2 separate regions of the Homo sapiens genome follow, and region 1 is linked to region 2. Evidence: promoter capture Hi-C in 16 types of primary human blood cells and fetal thymus (Javierre and others, 2016). All regions are on one chromosome and are shown on one strand. The core of a region is centred on a gene start or on the middle of the fragment in contact, and the rest is flanking DNA. Distances in the headings are between cores, read along the strand shown.

Region 1 (7,053 bases), core at 1,446-3,945, 1.3 Mb before region 2:
TAATAATTTGACAAATATTTAAGTGTTCACTATAGGCAAGTCAGTGGTGTGTGCAAGAGATGCAACCATGCATGAGGTATTCACTCTACCCTCAAGGAGTTTACTATCTGAGGAGAATGCACCAGAAGAAACTGACTAGGGACAAGTAAGAGAACTGTTAGGCAGCATCAATGATCCAGCTCAATTTACAGTGGCAGCAATCTATGTGCAAATGAGGCTGTTGTGCCGCAGAGTTCACCACCTGAATGGCAGGGCAAAGAAACATTGATTGAAGATTTGCTGGATTTTACGGGTTAAAAGGATATGGAACTGAGAGTGCTGAAAAGATAAGGAACTGAGGGTTTTGGCTTAAGTGATCAATCATGTGACTCAAGCTACAAAAAGAGGGAACAGAGGCCAGAAGGGAGTTAAAAAGATTGGGAGAAAATGTTGCCAAAAGGTTTTCTAGATGAAAGATCTCTTATGGTATGAGATCATGAGAGAAGATGCAGTCAGAGATTGGGCTCTAGAGTTTAAGATTTCTGAGATCCACAGCATGGCTTGCTGGCTACAAGGACATTGGACTGTCTTAGGATTATGGCAGGATTTAGGGTAAAGATAAATAATTTAACCCCAGATTCACTGGCTTTACTGGATATGAGCAAGGAATCCAGAAGTGTAGTCAGGGAGCTTGACCTCATAGCCGATAAAGCATGGATTAATAGGTGTTCGCTGGACCAAATTTCCATCTAATTTTGAAAATATGGAGGCATCTTGTAATGTTGGAGCAAAAGTTACAGGAAGTAGAGTGAAAGGTGGGAGGAGGGTGGTTGTTGGAAAGAATCTTGGGAGAGGGAGTTCAGGATAGTAAGGAGATGAAGGCATGAAAGCAGGTTGGAGACTGTAAAGCTTCCACTGTATGAAGGCTGTAGGGCTAAGAAATATGCTTATAATTGACAGACTTCAAAGGATTTAACCTGGGCATAAGTTGTGTTTTTTGTTGCTGTTGTTGTTTTTGAGACAAGGTCTCACTCTATGTGTAGGCTAAGGTGCAGTGGTACCATCTTAGCTCACTGCAGCCTCAAACTTCTGGGATCAAGCAATCCTACCACCTTAGCTTCCCAGGTAGCTAGGTCTACAGGCATGTGCCACCACACTGGCTAATTTTTTAATTTTCTGTTTTGACAAATTCTTGCTATGTTGCCCAGGCTGGTCTAGAACTCTAGGGCTCGAGCAATTATCTCACCTCGTCCTGCCAAAATGCTGGGATTACAGGCAGAAGCCACCATGCCCATTCATAAATTGTTTTAAGCCGGAGACAATTATATTATTAAAGCCAATAAAGTAAAAGGAGGAAACTTTCTAGTTTGAATACAAGAAAGAGTATTTAATTCAGGCAGTTCTCTGATATTGTATTACATGACCTCTTTATTTTTATCAATTAATTGAAGATACAAACTAAAATTTATAAATGTTGTGCATGGCCAAACTACATTAATGCTGTCTTTAAATCTCCAAAGTTAATATGATCAACATTGTGCAATGGAATGGAGAGAACTTTGACTTCAACAGATTAAGAATTTAGAAAGTAGGTGATGGAGTTTTCTTGTTAATAGGCACAAAGCAGTGTTCTTGGGCTTTAACTTTGTGCTAAATTAATGGCCAATTCCTACTGATTTTACCTCTTAATAATATTTATTTTATCATGTCCCTCTTGCCCTCCTATGCTGATACTATCCTTGTTTAGGCCATCATCCTCTCTCTCCCGGATTACTTTAAAAGCCTCCCCACTGGTCTCCCTCTCTTTAGACTTAAACCTACTAGTTCATCTTCCTTACCACCAGTGTATCTTTCAGACATCTAACCTTGTCATTATCCTACTGAAAGCCATTCCAGTCTCTCCACTGTCTACAGCTGAGAGTACAAACTCTTTATCATGGCATCACATCGGCTCTATAATGTGTCCCCTATCAACTTTTTCAATTTAACTTTTTTCCTTGCTGCCAGTAGGTTCCCATCTAATCAAATGCAGTATATCCTATTTTTTAAAACAGTAATCCTCCATTAAAAAAATTACTAGATATCTGTCTAAAGTATATGCCTGTTCTGTGCTTGACAAATTAGTTTCAGAGTAATTAATCTTAAATGGGTTGGCATTTATACATGGTTATTCCACTATTGACAACTGGATTATTTTAGGAATTACATACAGTTATATTGGAGCTACAACCTTTGAATTTGTGCATAGGAATTGCTATGGATGAAGTTTCAGATGCCCAGTATGGGACACATTTTTTAACAGCTTTATTGAGATATAATTCACATCCCATATAACTCATTCATTTAAAGTATACATTTCAATGGTTTTAGGATATTCACATATATTGCAACAATCACAATTTTATTTTATTTTTTATTATTTTTTAATTTTTCACATCCTCATGAGGCATCTGACATCACCACAATTTCAGAATATCTTACCCTCTCCTCAAAAAAACCCTGTGTCCTTTAGCCATCATCTTCGTATACCCCATCTACCTTAACGCAGAGCAAGCATTAATCTACTCTCTGTCTCTATGGAATTTGCATATCATGGGCATCTAATATAAATGGAATCATATGACATGGTCTCTTGTGTATGGCTTTTTCACATACCATAATGTATTTAATATTTAGATTCTAGCATGTGTCAGTACTTCATTTGTATAACAATAATATTTTATTGTATGGTTATATCACATTTTGCTTCTCAGTTCATTGACATTGAGGTTGTTTCCAACTTTTGGCTATTATGAATAATACTGCCATGAACATTTGTGTAAAAATTTTTGTGTAGCTATATATTTGAATATCTCTTCAGTATATAGCTAGGAATGGAATTGCTGCATGTCTGAGTCTGGGTTGCTATAACAAAATACAATAAACTGGGTGGTTTACAAAAAGCCCAGAAATTTGTTTCTCACAGTTTTGGAGGCTGGAAAGCCTAAGATCAAGGCATTGGCAGATTCCATGTCTGGTTAGGGCCCTCTTATTAGACAATCGTCTTTTATCTGTGTCCTCACATAGTGGAGAGTTTGAGAGATCTCTCTGAGGCCTCTTTTATAATCCTATTCATGGGGGCTCCACCCTGGTGACCTAGTCACCTCCAAATGCCACACTTCTTAACACTATCATCTTGGGGATTAGGATTTCAACATATGAATCTGCTTCAGGGCCAGTGGGGGCACATAAACATTCAACCCATTGCACTGGGTCATATGATTACTCTATAACTAACGTTTTGAGGAACTTCCAGCTGTTTTTCAAAATGGCTGCACCATTTTACCCCACCAGCAGTGTATTAGAGTTCCAATTTCTCCACATTGTTGTCAACGTGTTTTTTTACCTGAGTTTTTTATTATAGCCATCCTAGTGGATATGAAGTGGTATCTTATTGTGGTCTTGATTTGCATTTCCCTAACGCCTAATGATGTTAAACGTCGTTCCATGTGCAAATTGGCTATTTTTTTTTTTCAATGGAGAACTACTTATTCAAATCCTCTGCATGTTTTTAATTGGATTATTATATTTCTACTATTTCATTGTAGGAATTCCTTGCATATTCTGGATACTAGTCTCTTATCATGTATATGCTTTGCAAATATTTTCTCCTATTCTGCAAGTTGTCTTTTTACTTTCTTGATAGTGTCCTTTGAAGCACTGAAGTTCTTAATTTTTAGTAAGTTTAATTTATCTATGTTTTCTTTTGTTGCTGCTTTTTTTTTCTTGGTGTCATAGCTAGGAAACCATTTATGCTATTATTTCTTCAAATATTCTTTTGACTTAGCTGCCACTTTGATTTCAGATTTCTTACTGCCAGAGCTGTGAGCAAATAAATTTCTGTTGTTTTTAAGCAACATAGTTTGTGGTATTTTTTTTTTCTTACAGCAGCCACAAGAAACTACCTCTGTTGGCCTCATCACCTTCTCTTTCTCATTTTTCCCCAAGGAAGAAATAGGTCATCTGATTGAGTGTGGCTCTAGGGAGTATCCCTTCATTCCCCTCCCCTACCTGCCAGTGGCTGTCATCAATCTGTGGTATTCCTTGGTGCATCACTCTAATCATTGCCTCCATCTTATATCTGTGTCTTCTCTTCTGTCCCTTCTAAAGATATTTGCCATTGGATTTAGGACTCACCTAGATAATCCAGGATGATCTTATTTCAAGATAATTAAATTAGTTACATCTGCAAAGACCCTTTTCCTATATAAGGCCACATCCACAGGTTCTGGGGTTTACGACATGGACATATCTTTTTGGAGGCCACCATTCAACCACCGCAATTACTCTCATGGTGGTCTCTCCATATGGAAACATGGGGGAAGGGAGAAAAGTTCTACTTTAACTTATGCTTAGTGTAGCATTTGTAAAAAATAAAAGAAAATTAAAAAATTAAAAGTCATCTATATGTGCACCCATTGTATGAGTTTATTATTCATAATTAATATTCTCTCAAATTTTGGATTCATAAACCCAGATTAAAACAAGCTTGTCTGGCACCGTGGCTCACACCTGTAATCCCAACACTTTTGTAGGCTGAGGCAGGTGGAACTCTTGAGCTCAGGAGTTTGAGACCAGCCTGGGCAACATGTCGAAACCCCATATTTACAAAAAAACACAAAACTTAGCCAGGCATTGTGGCATGCACCTGTAGTCTCAACAATTTAGGAGCTGAGGTGGGGGGATCACTTGGACCTGGGAGGCAGAGCCAAGATCACTCCAGTGCACTCCATCTTGGGTGACAGAGTGAGACTCTGTCTCAACAAAAACAAAAAGAAAAATATAAACCAAAACTAAAGCTCTACTCTGTGTACTGTTATACTTATTTTTATTTAATAAGAAATTATGATAATCTTAATCTGTCAATAGATATGGAGATAAAACATAATTTTTAATGCCTACAGCATATCCTGCTGCATAAATATACCAAAACTTATTGAATCAATCTCCTCTGACAGATATCTGTGTTATTTCCAAATGTTCACAATTATGAACAAAATTGTGGTGAACCTCCTTGTTTTATTGAGCTTTACACACTTCTCCAGCTGTTGTCTTAGGATAAATAACTGGATCAGTTATTTTTAAAGGCTTTAATACATAATTCATCCTTCAGTAGTTTGTATAAAAGTATATTCCTAACAACAGTGTATGAGACTGAGTGCTTAAGATTTTGGGTATTACCCATCTTTTTTTTTTTTTTTTTTTTTTTTTTTGAGACGGAGTCTCGTTCTATCACCCAGGCTGGAGTGCAGTGGCGGGATCTCGGCTCACTGCAAGCTCCGCCTCCCGGGTTCACGCCATTCTCCTGCCTCAGCCTCCCAAGTAGCTGGGACTACAGGCGCCCGCCACTACGCCCGGCTAATTTTTTTGTATTTTTAGTAGAGACGGGGTTTCACCGTTTTAGCCGGGATGGTCTCGATCTCCTGACCTCGTGATCCGCCCGCCTCGGCCTCCCAAAGTGCTGGGATTACAGGCGTGAGCCACCGCGCCCGGCCTACCCATCTTTTAAATTGAGTATATTCTAGTTAGGATTTTTGCAAATATATTCATGATATTTGTTTGTTGTGTCTCCTTTTGTATCATTTTTGTCACAAAGCTTGGTGTTTACCATAGAGGGCTAAAAATTAGAATCACACTCATAGCTAGAGAGAAATACTTTATTAGGAGCCTGGTAAATATGAAAGAGTCTTAACGTCAGGACTCAGTGCTCCTTGGTAGTTCAAACAGACAAGACTGGCTTAGCCTGATAGAGCCAGAAGAAATGTAGCAGAGTCTGGAGAGATTGAGCAAAGATGGCAAGGAAGAAGTTATGGGGGTAAGGGTGATTTTATTATGTTTCAATATTTTACAGTTCACTTAAACTTTGAACTAAATAAAATGCATTAACAAACATGAAGTTTCTACATTTGACCACGACATTAACTAGGGAAAGAGAACATAAAGGAAAACAAGAAAAAGACTTTGAAGTATTGGAAACACACTCCACTAAAATGTTTTTATTTTTTATTTTTATTTATTTATGTTTTGGGACAGAGTCTCTCTCTGTAACCCAGACAGGAGTGCAGTGGTGCGATCTCGGTTCACTGAAATGGCCACCTCCTGGGTTCAAGCAATTCTCCTGCCTCAGCCTCCTGAGCAGCTGTCACTGCAGTCATGTGCCACCATGCCTGGCTAATTTTTTTGTATTTTTAGTAGAGAAGGGGTTTCACTATGTTGGCCAGGCTGGTTTTGAACCCCTGACCTCAGGTGATCTGCCTGCCTACATCTCCCAAAGTGCTGGGATTACAGGCATGAGCCATTATACCTGGCCTAAAATGTTTTCAATAGCCACATTTATGGAGAGGGAACAGATAAAGCTGTGGTTGTAATAAAAGGGCCTTTTGAATATTTGACTCTAAATGTTTATTTTAAAAAGGAACCCTTGATTCAAATGGCGATCCAAGATCACTTCGAAATCATGAGCAAGATCTCCCAGACCCAAATCTCATGGCTAGAAAATGGATGACCTGATTACATAGATCCTAAGATGTCTTTTATAAAAGCCTGAGAAGAACAGTGGACCTGAGAGTAAAACACTTCTGCAGAGATAATTTGTAGATCCACAGTCAAAATATTTCAGCTGTGCCTTTGTCTGTTGCCCACATGTCCAGGTAATTCTTTTAAGTAGTTTAAGAATGGTAAATTACACATTTTCTAGGAGACTGAAAATTCCTAATCAAAGGTTAATTATTTTTTGAAAATTATTTTTTGAAAAGTTTAGTAAAATCTTCTGAAGGCTTCATTTAGTTCTACATCTTGTAGAAGATTCAGAAGGCATCAGGTGTAACCTTCTGCTCTTTTCTCTATCCATTGCTGGCTCCCTACTTTCATTTTGAATTTATCCCTATTTCCCTATTTTTCCCCCTTTGTGTACAGATACGATCATTCTCCACCCTACCTTCCAGCACTTGCCCCTCTTCAACTACCACCTTCTCCATCCCTTGTTGAGAAAGCCTTCTCTCAACTTCTTGTTTATACTTAGATTCTTTTTTTCCT
Region 2 (7,156 bases), core at 4,397-6,896:
AAACTTTTCCCATAGTTTTCTCCCCTACTTAATGATTCCTTACTACATCGTTCCATAAATAACCTTTCCACATCTGTAATTTGAACTAACTTTTTGTTTTTTGTTTTTTGTTTTTGAGACGGAGTCTGGATCTGTTGCCCAGGCTGGAGAGCGGTGGCGCGATTTCGGCTCACTGCAAGCTCCGCCTGCCGGGTTCACGCCATTCTCCTGCCTCAGCCTCCCGACTAGCAGGGACTACAGGCGCCCACCACCAGGCCTGGCTACTTTTTTTAAATTTTTTTTGTAGAGACGGGGTTTCACCGTGTTAGCCAGGATGGTCTCCATCTCCTGATCTCGCGATCCGCCCGCCTCGGCCTCCCAAAGTGCTGGGATTACAGGCATGAGCCACCCCGCCCGGCCTGAACTAATTTTTGGATAACTTCTGAATTAGACAAAATTATTCTTTTTCTCACTAATAACATAACCCTTTCTGGCACATTTTGTAAACAGAATTATATGTTAAGGAGAATTCTTATCCTTGGTAACTTAAAACTTTTGTGAGACCCTAAAAAGCAAGAAATCCTCAACTATCAGATACGGGCATTTATACATAAGAACAATTCCACAATTTTAGAAACACATTTCCCCATATCACAACCCTTTCTTTTTTTTTTTTTTTTTTTTTCTGAGATAGAGTCTCGCTCTGTCGCCCAGGCTGGAGTGCAGTGGGCAATCTCGGCTCACTGCAAGCTCCACCTGCAAGGTTCATGCCATTCTCCTGCCTCAGCCTCCGGAGTAGCTGGGACTACAGGCGCCCGCCACCACGTCCGGCTATTTTTTTTTTTTTTTTTGTATTTTTAGTAGAGACGGGGTTTCACTATGTTAGTGAGGATGATCTTGATCTCCTGACCTCGTGATCCGCCCGCCTTGGCCTCCCATAGTGCTGGGATTACAGGCATGAGCCACCGCGCCCGGCCACAACCCTTTCATAATTGGAAATGACCCAGATATTAAATGAGCGTCAGAAATAACTCTAAAATTTTAATTTACACAAAAAGTTTACCTAAAATATTTATTCCATTCACTATACTCAATTCTTTCACTTTTTGTTTGTGTGTTTGTTTGTTTTTTTGAGACGGAGTCTCACTCTGTCACCAGGCTGGAGTGCAGTGGTGCGATCTCGGCTCACTGCAACCTCCGCCTCCCAGGTTCAAGCTATTTTCCTGTCTCAGCCTCCCGAGTAGCTGGGACTACAGGCACACGCCACCATGCCCAGCTAATTTTTGTATTTTTAGTGGAGACGGGATTTCACCATGTTGGCCAGGATGGTCCCAATCTCTTGACCTCGTGATCTGCCCGCGAGTAGCTGGGACTACAGGCACATGCCACCATGCCCAGCTAATTTTTGTATTTTTAGTGGAGACGGGATTTCACCATGTTGGCCAGGATGGTCCCAATCTCTTGACCTCGTGATCTGCCCGCTTCGGTCTCCCAAAGTGCTGGGATTACAGGTGTAAACCACCACCGTGCCTGGCCAATTCTTTCACTTTTAACAAGGGAGCCAGGAGACATCAATTAACATGTAAAATGAACATTGGTTAGGTCAGAAAGGCCAGGGATGCAGCTTGGGGCTTCCAGGTCACAGGTAGGTGTGAAAGGAATGGTTGCATTCTTTTGAGTTTCTGATTAGCCTTTCCAAAGAAGGCAATTAGATATGCATTTATCTCGGTGAGACTGAACAGAATATGAGGCAGGCCTTCCCCAAGCAGCTCCCAGCCCAAATCTTCTCTTCAGCCTAGTAATTTTTGGGGGGCTCAAGATATTTTCCTTTTATAAATTACTCTCATTCGTCAAAAGAAAGCACACAAACCAAGATTATTTTGTTTTGGCTGGGATTACAGTTTTATAACCTTCTATGCCAAACACTGACATCTCAAAATATCTAGCAAAGACAAACATAAAATTCAGACAAAATGTATGCTGACAGTTCCGAAGGCATTTTTATTTTTATTCCACCAATAATTTTAAAGCTAGCTTATATACACCATGGAATACTATGCAGCTATAAAAAAGAATTAGTTCATGTCCTTTGTAGGGACATGGATGAAGCTGGAAACCATCATTCTGAGCAAACTATGGCAAGGACAGAAAACCAAACACTGAATGTTCTCACTCATAGGTGGGAATTGAAGAATGAGAACACCTGGACACAGGGTGGGGAACATCACACACCCGGGCCTGTAGTGGGGTGGGGGGAGGGGGGAGGGATAGCATCAGGAGATATACCTAATGTAAATGACGAGTTAATGGGTGCAGCACACCAACATGGCACATGTATACATATGTAACAAACCTGCATGTTATGCACATGTACCCTAGCACTTAAAGTATTTAAAAAAAAAAAAGGGCTGGGCGCGGCGGCTCACGCCTGTAATCCCAGCACTTTGGGAGGCTGAGGCAGGTGGATCACGAGGTCAGGAGATGGAGACCATCCTGGCTAACACGGTGAAACCCCGTCTCCACTGAAAATACAAAAATTAGGCCGGGTTTGGTGGTTTACACCTGTAATCCCAGCACTTTGGGAGGCCGAGGTGGGCGGATCTCGAGGTCAGGAGATCAAGACCACGGTGAAACCCCGTCTCTACTAAAAATACAAAAAATTAGCCAGGCGTGGTGGCGGGCACCTGTAGTTCCAGCTACTCAGGAGGCTGAGGCAGGAGAATGGCGTGAACCCGGGAGGCGGAGCTTGCAGGGAGCCGAGATCGCGCCACTGCACTCCAGCCTGGGCAACTGAGCAAGACTCCGTCTCAAAAACAAAACAAAACAAAAACAAAAACAAACGAACAAAGTAGCTGGGCGTGGTGGCATGCACCTGTAGTCCTAGCTATTCGGGAGGCTGAGATAGGAGAATATCTTGAACCTGGGAGGCAGAGGTTACAGTAAGCCGAGATCACGCCACTGCACTCCAGCCAGGGCGACAGAGTGAGACTCTACGTCAAAAAATATATATATATAAATAAATAAAATAAAGAAAAATAAAAACAGGGTCACCATTGCTAGTTTTAATTCTTTCAGTTTAATTTTTTTTTTTTTTTTTTTTTTTTTTTTTTTTTGGAGACAGAGTCTCGCTCTGCCTCCCAGGCTGGAGTGCAGTGGCGCGATCTCGGCTCACTGCAAGCTCCGCCTCCCGGGTTCACGCCATTCTCCTGCCTCAGCCTCCCGAGTTGCTGGACTACAGGCACCTGCCACCACGCCCGGCTAATTTTTTTTGTATTTTTAGTAGAGACGGGGTTTCACCGTGTTAGCCCGGATGGTCTCCATCTCCTGACCTCGTGATCCACCCGCCTCGGCCTCCCAAAGTGCTGGGATTACAGGCGTGAGCCACCGTGCCCGGCCTTTCAGTTTAATTTTTATTGGATTTAACGGAAATAAGAAGGAAAGCAGAAAAAATTGCTAAACCTCAGAAAAAGGTTTTTTACAAGAAATATTAGTTCTTACAAGTTTCCTATAAAGTTAAGAAAAAAGGGATTTTAATAATACTAGTTGTTGTAAATAAGTGATTCAATTTTAAGCTATCAATTCACCCCTGCTGTGAAAGATACTGAAATCGGCACTCTCAAACCTCTTGATTTAATTATATTTGCATTATCATAAAGTCAGTGTGCAGGTTAGTGCAAGAGAAAATTCATGAACAGAAGGTAGATCTGAAGAAATTACCTAGAATGTAGCACAAAATGTTAAAAATCTAGAGAATCTGAGAAAAGACATGAAATAGAATGAGAAGGTCTGACACACATAGTATAAAATAGAGATTCCTGAAAGAAAGATAAAAGTTGGGAAGGGTTCTGTTATGGACTAAATTTTTGTATCTCCCAATTCATATATTGAAATCTTAACTCCCAATGTGATGGTATTAGCCTAAAGTGTTCAGTAACCTTTTAAGCTACTAGAACCTATCATCACCTCTGCCTTGTGCATGCTCTTTGGGGTGTGATGGTGAGGATCTATGTCACAGAGAGCCTCTGTCAGATTGGGTGTTTGAGGCTCTTGGTTTCTAGGCAATTTCTCTATGAAATTTTATTCTGTTTATTTGAATTCAAGGGTCTTTTATATCTTTAAAAATATGTAGAGTTTCTCCCTGCATTTTATTGCATTAGAAAGAAAATAGACTGATGGCATGTACTATTTTAAAGATTACTCTTAAAAAAAAAAAACAACAAACCTCTTGTCTTTTGAGGAGGGGATGTCTCTTTAAAAACAAATTTTCTCGAGAGAACCCTTGTTCTACATAAATAGATGACCACTCTCAGAAGCCAAGGAAGCAGTTGTTTCAGGTTCTTTCAATTTTCTTTCCAATCTCAACCGTCAGTGCACGGAGCTGTCCAAGGTTTTTATTTCTTGCCCTTCCCGTTCCTGACCCCTTTAATCATCACACAAACAGGCAGCAGAGACAAAGTAATGAAGAACACCAACTCTGGAGTCAAACAAACTGGGTTAGAGTCCCAGAGCCAGCATTCAACAGTTGTGTGATCTCGATCAAATCCTGTAACCTCTCTGGGCTTCAGTTTCTTCATCTATCAAAACAAGGATGACAGTAACAGTACCTAACCCATAGATTATCATGAGGATTTAATCAGTTACTCTTTGTAAAAGAGTTTATTACAATGCCTGGCAAATAGCAAAAAAGGAATTTTGGGGTTCCCTAGTTTCTACCATAAAAGAATTGTAGACATGGGTTATGTTGCTACTTAACAGTTTTGCTCTTGTAAATATTGCTCTGGCAATCAATACAGGATGGAGAGCAGGAGGAAGTAGAAAGAATGCTCGCAGAACTATGACTTAGGGTGTCTAGTCCTGGCTCTGCCATTAATCAGTTGTGTGACCCTTGCTAAGTTAACTGACCCCTCTGAACTCAGTTTTTTTTTTCTCTCTCTGTAAAAGGAAGGGCTTAAACTTCAGTAAATAACCGGTATGTTTTATTTAGTATTTTGCGAATCCCATTTCCAACTCTACGTTCAATCCAGTGACGGTATTTCTAGTTTATAAACTAGAAAAATAATCTTTGGCATCTGAGGGTCACAGCCGAGAGTATCTCCCTAGCAGGAGATTAGGGAGCCAGTGACAAAGTGGCACCAGGGGAACCGATGTATGCCAGGAATCCAGACAGAGGGTGACATTAGCACTTCTTTCTGCAGAACCTAAACCCTGCCCGACTCACCCGGAGGAGCTGTCACGGTGGTTTGCTGGAAACCCCCTTTCTGTTGGGAGGATTACTGGGTCACGGTTTCCCAAGGACATGGAAACCCTTGCTGAAGCGCTGGAACCGCTCGGCACGAGGCGTACGTCGGTGGGAGCTGTGTCAGCCCGCTTTCGGCCGTGTAGCTGCTCCCATCCAGACTCTAGAAGGGGTCCTCTTTGCGTCAGGCCCAATCACCCCCCTCCCCGAGCGACTGCACTGGGTGTCCCTGCGCCGCGCGTCCCCTCCCTCTCGCCCCTCCCTCCTGGCTGCCATAGAAACCAGCTTACAAGGTCCAGGCCGGCGTCCGGGTGCACTACAGGCCCCCCGTCCCTCCTTCCCCACGCCAGCCCCTCGCTCCGGATTGGTCCTTCAGGAAACGCTGTGGGGCGTCTCGGTCCCCGCTGCGGAGCCGGCCTAGGCCGGAGGGCGGGGTTTGCCCTGGGCCGCTGCCGGTCAGGTCGGCCGCCCCTGACAGCTCCGGGAGCCTCAAGCGCGACAGCGGCGCCCTCACCTCGGGACATCCACACACCGACCGCTCCTGCTCCAGAGGCAACAACCCAGCGCGCCTAGCCTGGCGCCGTGCAGCGAAGCCCAAGAGCTGGCCTCGCCACGAAGGTAAGCGAGGGGCTGGGGGACTCGCCGCCAGCACCCCCACCCCGCCACCCTTCCTCTGCTAGGCTGCAGACCTGGGTGGCTGAGGAGGAGGCGCCTCTCCTCCCCGCGACCCAAGGAAGAAAGGAAGCCCTGCCACGGGGTGTCTGCGAAGTGGGGTCAGAAGAAGGTTAGGCGCTTTCTGGGGCGTACCCCCACACCTGCCCAGGCCGATCCGCAAGCGAGAGGAGGGGGCATTAGAGCCAGGGCGAGAGCGTGCTCGCGCGTGTGTGCCCGTGTCATGTGTGGTGCCCGTGTCATGTGCGGCGCCCATGTCTATGTGCGCGCGTGTGTGCACCCATGTCTCTGTATGGTGTGGACACTCGTGTCTGCGTGCGCGTCCACACGTGAGCCGAGGAGCGCAGCTTAGCGCCTAGCGTTGCGCACAGCGGGTGCGCTGGACCAGAGCCCTAAGGCACCAGACCAAATCTGGAGCGTTTGTTACAAGGGCAGAAGACCGGCGTGATCTCCCCACGCGCGCCGGCCGGTGCTGCTGGTGGAGAGAACTGACATCTAACGCATGTGGCCCAGGAGAACAAAACCTTCCATTGCACCCCACGCCGCGACTCTCCCCAGCGAAAGGTGCTTCTTTTGGAAGACCGCACGAAGTAAGGAAGAGCCTCTTTTCCTCTTCCTGGATATCCCTCCAGGAATATTAGAAGCTCCAGGACTCCTTGATACGACCAGGAAAAGATCGCAACCGGGTCTTTAAAATATCGATTCCAGCCAGCTTCTGCGTGCTTGACACATCTTGGCAGATGGAGAAGTCAAGGCAATAGATAACATGGGCAGCAAAGATTCTGCTATAGCACTTCTTTCCTTTCTGTTTTTTCCTTCCCTCCTTCCCTCCTTTTCCCTCTTCTCCCTCCCTCCTTTCCTCCTCCTCCTCTCCCCTTCTCTTCTCCTCCTCCCTCCCTCCCTTTCTCCCTTTCTCCTCTCTTTTCCCCTTCCCTCCCCTGTTTTCGTCCTCCTGAGTACAGTAGACAAGAGGGCTCTCTGTCTACCCCCCCTCCCCCACCCCATTCCTCATCCCGTTTCAAAATAAGAGCGAATGAATCACATTCTAAGCTCTTACCCGTGCAGTTCTGACAAGTTTGGAAATTACACAAATCGCGTTTGCAATTGAGGCCGCGGGAATCCAAAAGGGAAACAAACGAAACCAGATGAAAAAAAGTGATTCCAAGTCAAGATTTCAAATGGAAATCTAAGGTGAATATTTGTTTATGGTAATAAGATTTTTTTTAATGTTTGAAAAGTATGTATCACACTAGCTTGCATCATCAGTAT

What was found. The method cuts DNA at HindIII sites, captures the fragments that hold promoters and counts their contacts. A CHiCAGO score of 5 or more calls a contact.
Region 1: a fragment that was not itself captured here is called in contact with the fragment with the promoter of NIM1K in region 2 in 1 of 17 cell types (monocytes); the score reaches 5.6 in monocytes.

The regions. Positions count from the first base shown.
Region 1 is chr5:41,896,050-41,903,102 of GRCh38, forward strand. No RefSeq gene overlaps it. Among named protein-coding and RNA genes, the nearest start is that of RIMOC1, 4.8 kb to the right of the region's middle. The HindIII fragment of the contact is 3,618 bases long and covers 887-4,504 here.
Region 2 is chr5:43,186,579-43,193,734 of GRCh38, forward strand. It overlaps NIM1K (NIM1 serine/threonine protein kinase), which reads left to right and starts at 5,647. Exons shown (of 4, transcript NM_153361.4): 1 at 5,647-5,833. RefSeq lists a silencer at 5,488-5,627 and an enhancer at 5,963-6,672. The HindIII fragment of the contact is 11,127 bases long and covers 1-7,156 here.